2 separate regions of the Homo sapiens genome follow, and region 1 is linked to region 2. Evidence: promoter capture Hi-C in human tissues and cell types (Jung and others, 2019). All regions are on one chromosome and are shown on one strand. Each heading gives the region's core, a stretch centred on a gene start or on the middle of the fragment in contact. The rest is flanking DNA. Distances are from core to core; before and after follow the strand shown.

Evidence for each region. Contacts are between HindIII fragments. The study calls those that stand out against the background at their distance.
Region 1: a fragment that was not itself captured here is called in contact with the fragment with the promoter of SCNN1G in region 2 in 1 of the 25 tissues and cell types used here (lymphoblastoid cells).

What each region holds. Positions count from the first base shown.
Region 1 is chr16:23,538,700-23,542,349 of GRCh38, reverse strand. The region is part of intron 3 of EARS2 (glutamyl-tRNA synthetase 2, mitochondrial); the gene reads left to right. Among named protein-coding and RNA genes, the nearest start is that of EARS2, 17 kb to the left of the region's middle. RefSeq lists enhancers at 3,448-3,650, 3,343-3,650. The HindIII fragment of the contact is 8,042 bases long and covers 1-3,650 here.
Region 2 is chr16:23,180,768-23,184,376 of GRCh38, reverse strand. SCNN1G (sodium channel epithelial 1 subunit gamma) reads right to left here and starts at 1,632. Exons shown (of 13, transcript NM_001039.4): 1 at 1,564-1,632. RefSeq lists a silencer at 1,661-1,910. The HindIII fragment of the contact is 8,387 bases long and covers 293-3,609 here.

The DNA of each region.
Region 1 (3,650 bases), core at 575-3,074, 360 kb before region 2:
CGACACTGTCTCAAAAAAAAAAAAAAAAAAAAAGAAAAATGAAAGGTCCACAAAGGGCCAAGTATGGTGGCTCACGTCTGTAATTCCAGCACTTTGGGAGGGCGGAGGTGGGCAGATCACTTGAGGTCAGAAGTTCGAGACCAGCCTGGCCAACATGGTGAAACCCCATCTTTACTAAAAATACAAAAATTAGGCCTGGAGTGGTGGCTCATGCCTGTAATCCCCGTACGTTGGGAAGCCGAGGTGGGCAGATCACCTGAGGTCAGGAGTTCAAGACCAGCCTGGCCAATATGGTGAAACCCCATCTCTACAAAAATACAAAAATTAGCTGGGCATGATGGCGGGTGCCTATAATCCCAGCTACTTGGGAGGCTGAGGCGGGAGAATAATTTGAACCTGGGAGGCGAAGGTTGCAGTGAGCTGAGATCATGCCATTGTACTCCAGCCTGGGCAACAGAGCAAGACTCCATCTCCAAAAAAAAAAAAAAATTAGCTGAGCTTGGTGGTGCACGCCTGTAATCCTAGCTACCTGGGAGGTTGAGGCACTAGAATCGCATGAACCCAGAAGGTGGAGGTTGCAGTGAGCTGAGATTGTGCCATTGTACTCCAGCCTGGGTGACAGAGGGAGACTGTCTCAAAAAAAAAAAAAAGAAGATCCACAAAGATATATATTGAAAGAACTCTCTTCCAATCTTGACTCTGGCCACTCAATTCTGCTCTCCAGAGATAACCAGTGTTAAAATTTTCTTATGTCTCCTCCAGAGACATTCAGTACATATACCTATAAGTACATATTATTTTCTCTTTTTCCTTATTCACATGGTAGCATGCAATGTACTATGTACATGCTATGTGGTGCAATTTACCATGTCCGCTTACCATCTTGAGGATCAGATATCAGTCCATAATAATGCATAATATTCCATTTGTGGATATAACTTCATTTACTTAATCAGTTTCGTCTTAACAAACATTTATTTTTGTTTTGTTTTGTTTTGTTTTATGTTATGTTGTGTTATTTTAGAAATGGAGTCTTGCTCTATTCCCCAGGCTGGAGTGCAGTGGCAAGATCTTGGCTCACTGCAATCTCCATCTCCCAGGTTCAAGTGATTCTCTGGCCTCAGCCTCCCGAGTAGCTGGGATTACAGGTGCCCGCCACCACACCCTGCTAATTTTTGTATTTTTTTGGTAGAGATGGGGTTTCACCATGTTGGTCAGGCTGGTCTCAAACTCCTGACCTCAAGTGATCTGCCCAAGTGATCCTCAAGTGGCCTCCCAAAGTGCTGGGATTACAGGCATGAGCTACGACACTCGGCCTTAATAAACCTTTATGTTATTTATTTATTTATTTATTTTTTGGAGACGGAGTCTTGCTCTGTTGCCCAGGCTGGTGTGCAGTGGTGTGATCTTGGCTCACTGCAACCTCCACTTCCTGGATACAAGCAATTCTCCTGTCTCAGCCTCCTGAGGAGCTGGGACTAGAGGTGCATGCCACCACACTTGGCTAATTTAATTTTCTTTTATATTTTAGTAGAGACGGGGTTTCACCGTGTTACCCAGGCTGGTCTTGAACTCTTGAGCTCAGGCAATCCACCTGCCTCGGCCTCCCAAAGTGCTAGGACGAGCTCAGGCAATCCACCTGCCTCGGCCTCCCAAAGTGCTAGGACTACTGGCATGAGCCACTGCGCTCAGCCCAAACCTTTATGTTATTTCTAATATTTGGTTATAAAAGAAGAGAGCTGTGATGACTAATGTTGACATATGTCATTTTGCACTTGTGCAGTATGTTTGCTGAATACCTTCCTAGAGGTGGAATTGCAGAGTCGAGTTGTAGCTTTGATGGATACTGCCAAGTGGCTGGCCCTTTACTTGTTTACACTCCCATCTGCAATAGCATTGTAACATTTACATTGCAGTTCCAGTGAACTATTTGGTCAAGGGCTCAGCTGTTTGGCCAAGGTCATGACGTTTACGGTGACATTGCCTTTTTATTATAAACAATGTATTTGTCTCTTGACAGAATATTTTTTTTCTCATCTCATTCTGTGACCCAGGCTGGAGTGCAGTAGCATGATCACAGCTCATTGCAGCCTTGAATCTCCTGGGTTCAAGCAATCCTACATCCTCAGCCTCTCAAGTAGCTGTGACCACAGCCATGTACCACCACACACAGAGTGTTATGTTTTGTTTTGTTTTGAGATGGGGTCTCACTCTGTCACCCAGATTGGAGTGCAGTGGTGTGATATTGGCTCAAGGCAACTTCTGCCTCCTGGGCTCAAGCAGTCCTCTCATCTCAGCCTCCCAAACAGCTGGAACCACAGGTGTGTGCCGCCATGCCCGGCAAATTTTTTTTGTATTTTTTGGTAGAGACGGGGTTTCTCCGTGTTGCCTAGGCTGGTCTCAAACTCCTGAGCATAGGAGATCCACCCACCTCAGCCTCCCAAAGTGCTGGGATTATAGGTGTGAGCCATCATGCCCGGCTGGCACACAGCTAGTTTTTAAATTTTTGTAGAGATGGAATTCCCCTATTTTGCCCAGGCTGGTATGAAACTCAAGCGATCTTCCCACCTCAGCTTCCCAAAGTGCTGGGATTATAGGCATGAGCCACCATGCCTGGCCAACAGATTTTTTTTTTTTGTTAAATTATAGTCATGCCCTGTTGTGGAATCCTTGCAGCCATTTATTTATTTATTTATTTTAAGCTTTCAGGATTTGTATTAAATCCTAGTCTAATTTAACGGTATCTGATGTTACACACATCATCTCATGGTGAACGTGTTTAATAAGCGAAAGCAAATCAGACAGCTTATCTAAGTCGTTATTTTTTGTGGACTAAACAGTAAGGTAACAACTACCCAGAACCCTATGGGTCATGATGGACACTTGCTCAGTTTTCATACAAGCTGTGTTGGTTATCAAAGTATATCTGCTAATATTTAATAAAGTGAAATGTCATTGGGGTGGAAAAGTCAAGCCTAGACATTTGGTTGGAAAAGAACAGATCAAGTATGGATTTCACAAACCAAAAGTTTATAAACTCAATGCAATACAAGTCCTTTCTATTGTAAAAGCTTAGTTGAAACTAAAAGATCTGTAAAAACTATTACTTTGGGCCTTAAACAGTACTAGCTCTTATGAGCAAAAAAAGGACACAACTGCAGCCTGGGCAACGTGGTGAAACCCTATCTATATTAAAGTACAAAAATTAGCTGGGCTTGGTGGTGTGTGCCCATAATCTCAGCTACTTAGGAGGCTGAGGCAGGAGAATCAGCTGAACTAGGGAGATGGAGGTTGCAGTGAGCTGAGATTGTGCCACTGCACTCCAGCCTGGGAGACAGAATGAGACCCTGTCTCAAAAAAAAAAAAAAAAAAAAAAGGAGGGGGGCCATAACTGTTGAGAATGTATTACTTGGTTTTATTTTACATTAGGTGGTAGGTACAAAGCAATCCTTCTTAATAAAGCTGACAGTTAGCTTCCCTTAGGACTTTTTTTTCCAGACAGGGTCTTGCTGTGTCACCCAGGCTGGAGCGATGCAATCATGACTCACCACAGCCTTGACTTCCTGGGCTCAAGCAATCCTGCTTCAGTCTCCCAAGTGGGTGGAACTACACACATGTACCCACCATGCCCGGCTAATTCTTTTTTTTTC
Region 2 (3,609 bases), core at 383-2,882:
TAGGTCCAGGTTCAATTGCTTGTCAAATAAAACTGCAGCCCTCCTCTGTGAATGTTCAACAGAAGCTGTGATTCTGGAAGCTCCTATCCCCAGCTCTCAGGGGTACCTCTGCCCCATCAGCCCCTTCCCCAGAACCGACCTTGACCCCAATGGATCAGTCGACAATGTCAGAGGAGCCCCCAAGTGAAGGAAGGGAACTGATCTTGCTCTTTGCAAAACAGATAAAATATTCATATAAATAATATTTCAACTTCAAAGCAAAACAAGACTGTAGCTACCATTAGATTATGCAGCCTGAGCCAATGTGATACCCTTGGTGGAAGAATTACTAGCTGATACCCAGCACTTACTCTTCTAAGTACTTTGCAGCTGTCACCTCATTTAATTTTCACGATAATCGTCTGAGGTAGGTATCACAACCACCTCCATTGTACAAATGAAACAGACGCTGACAGGTTAAGTAGCTTGCCCAAGGTCACACTAGAAAGTGGCTGAGCTGGGATTTGCACCTAGGAGTCCCTTTAACGACTAACTAGGCTGCTCTTCAATCATTAATAATAATAACAGCAGCAGGGAAAGCAGCAATAATGGCAGCTATCACTTATTGATCCCTTTCTGTACTCCCAGGCATCCCACTCAGTCCTTTTCACACACTACCTGATTTAATCCTCACTACAGTTATATGAGGTGCTATTACTTGGCCCATTTCACAGAGAAGGAAACTGAGGCACAGAGGTTAGGTAATTTGCCCAAGACCACACAGGTAGAAAGGATTTGAAGGATTCTTTAGAATTCCAGGGCCCTGGCTCATCGCAGCGGCTCCGTGCACCCCCTCCTCACCTACCACCGACTTTGCCTGTCCCCCATCCCACAGTGCAGGACCCCAAAGCTTGGAGAGGGATGAGAGATTTGCCCCAAGTCTAGCGTTGGGTTCGCTGGACCGGAGAGTTCCCGATCAGTGCCCGTCCCGAAGGGCGAGTCCTGTGCAGAAATCACTTGAACTCAACCTCAGGGCCCTGACCCGAGCTCCTGCCGAGCGACCCCGCAGCCCTGCCCTCCCTGCGCGGAGCGAGCGGGCGCTGTCCTGTGGCGGAAGCCACGTCTGCCCCGGGGGAGCGCCGGCTGAAGGCGCTGGAGCGAATCCAACCAGCCCACTTCAAGTGTTTGCTTCTTTCTGCACCAAGTCACCCCGGAGAAAGCATTCCAGAGGGTAGAAGGAACAGTAGCGGACAGGTCCACGCGACTCACCCCGGCAGGGAAGGGGGCTGAACAGGCGCTGGGCGGAGAAAAGAGGCCAGGTGTGGCCCGGGACCCCCAGACCCCCGGACTCTGAGTGGCTCTCGACTGGCTTCGTGCTCCGGGCCACGGCGTGGGTAGACCCGGGAGAGCTGGCCGCTACCGCCCGGGCAAGGTGTCCCAGCATCCCGGGCACCGGGAAGCCGCCACCGGCTGATGCTGGCTCGGCCACCCACCGCGCTGACGGCGTCCGACGCCCTGGCGCCCGGCATCCGCTCCAGTGCCCAGAACCCCCGAGCTGGTCCGACCCAACCCGGCTGAACTCACCTTTCGGTTCCAAAGGGTCCAAGGCTCGTGCGGGTGCGCTGCTCCTCTGCTCGCTCTCGGGCTAGCATCCCCTGGCAGCGCCACCGCGGGCTCTTGTGGGCCGGCCAGGCCCCGCCCCCTAGGGACCCGCCTCCCCAGGCCCCGCCCCCACCTGCCCAGGTGCTTTCCCCAGGCCGCCAGGCACCTGAGACCGCCCGGAGCGGGCCACGACTTCACAACGCCCCCTGGCGCCCCGAAGCCGCCCTGCGCCCCAGCCCGGCCGCGCTGCGTCTTCCTGGGCCACCGCGCAGTGCCTGCTGCCGCCCCGAGGCCGCCCTGCCATCCTGCATTCCCGCTGGGTCTCTGCGGCACTTACCCCAAGGCGCCTCAAAGCGCCTGCTGCCCCCTATTACTGCCCCGCGACTTCCTTCCACTCCCGTCCAGATGGCAGGTGCCTGCCCTAGCACCAGCAGTAATCCCACGCAGCCTCGCTCCTCGGACTCCCTCCAGACCTGCAGCTTCAGTGCCCACCAGCGTCCGGCTGTAGGCAGCAGGGGCTGTTCAGCCAGGCCACTCATCCTTTGACCTTTTCAGCTGCTTCTTTCTCTTTCTTTCGTTATTTCCTCCTTCCTTCTTCTTTCTTTTCCTCTTTCCTTCTTTTTTTTTTTTTTTGACGGAGTCTCGCTCTGTCGCCCAGTCTGGAGTGCAATGACGCTATCTCAGCTCACTACAACCTCCGCCTCCCGGGTTCAAGCAATTCTCCTGCCTCAGCCTCCCAAGTAGCTGGGGTTACAGGCGCGCGCCACCATGCCCGGATTAATTTTTGTGTTTTTAGTAGAGACGCGGTTTCACCATGTTGGCCAGGCTGGTCTCAAACTACTGACCTCAGGTGATCCACGCGTCTTGGCCTCCCAAAGTGCTGGGATTACAGGTGTGAGCCACCGCGCCTGGCCTGTCCTTCTTTCTCTTTCTCTCTTTCTTTCCTTTCTTTCCTCCTTCCTTCCTTGCCTGCCTGCCTGCCTTCCCGCCCGCCCACCTTCCTTCCTTCCTTCCTTCCTTCCTTCCTTCCTTCCTTCCTTCCTTCCTTCCTTTCTCTTTCTTGCTTGCTTGCCTTCCTTCCTTCCTTCCTCCCTCTTTCTTCTTTCTCTCTCTCCCTTCCTTCCTTCCTCCCTCCCTCCCTCCTTTTTCTTTCTTCCTTTCTTTCTTTCTTTCTTTCTTTTTCTTTCTTTCTTTCCTCTATTTCTCTCTTTCTTTTTTTAACAGGGTCTGCCTCTGTCACCTTGGCTGGAGTGCAGTGCTGCAATCATAGCTCACTGTAGCTGCCAACTACTGGGCTCAAGCGAGCCTCCCACTTCAGCGTCTCAAATAGCTGGAATTACAGAGGTAAGCCACCTTTCCTAGCTTCAGCTGCCTTTTTATAGGGACTCAGATAACTACAAGAAACGAGATTAGAAAACTGCAATTGGGAGGGACCATAGAGACACAGCCCCTTTGTGCCGGGGAGAAACTGAAGCCCAGAGAGAGGAAAGGATCTGTTCTTACCTAGAGCTTCTCAGATTTGAATGTGGTTACAATCACCTATGGATGTTGTTAAAATGCAGATTCTGACTCGATAGGGGTGGAGTGGGTCTTAAGAGTCCGAATTTCCAAATTCCTAGGAGATGCCTTGGTTGCTGGTCCAAGGGCGGTTTGCCCAGGTGGATGGAAACAGGTCCAGCATTATTGGAGAGAAATTTAAAGAAAATCCTCTAAAAAATCTCAGCTGCTTCTTCTAACAATATATGCTCATTGCAAAGAATTAAAACAATAAACTGTGCCCCCCCCTCCCCAAATAAGCATGGCTAACAGTTTGGTTATTATTTGGTGTGTGTGTATGTGTGTGTGTCCACACACACATATTAGTTTTATATATATACACATACATATATAATGGGATTTTGAAACACACACTGTTCAAATTCTATGTTTGTTTTGAATGACAATACACAGTTATATTCTCACTGCAAAATAAAGCCAGCTTTTTCTTCTTTTTGTCTTTTAAATTATTTATTTATTTATTTATTTTGA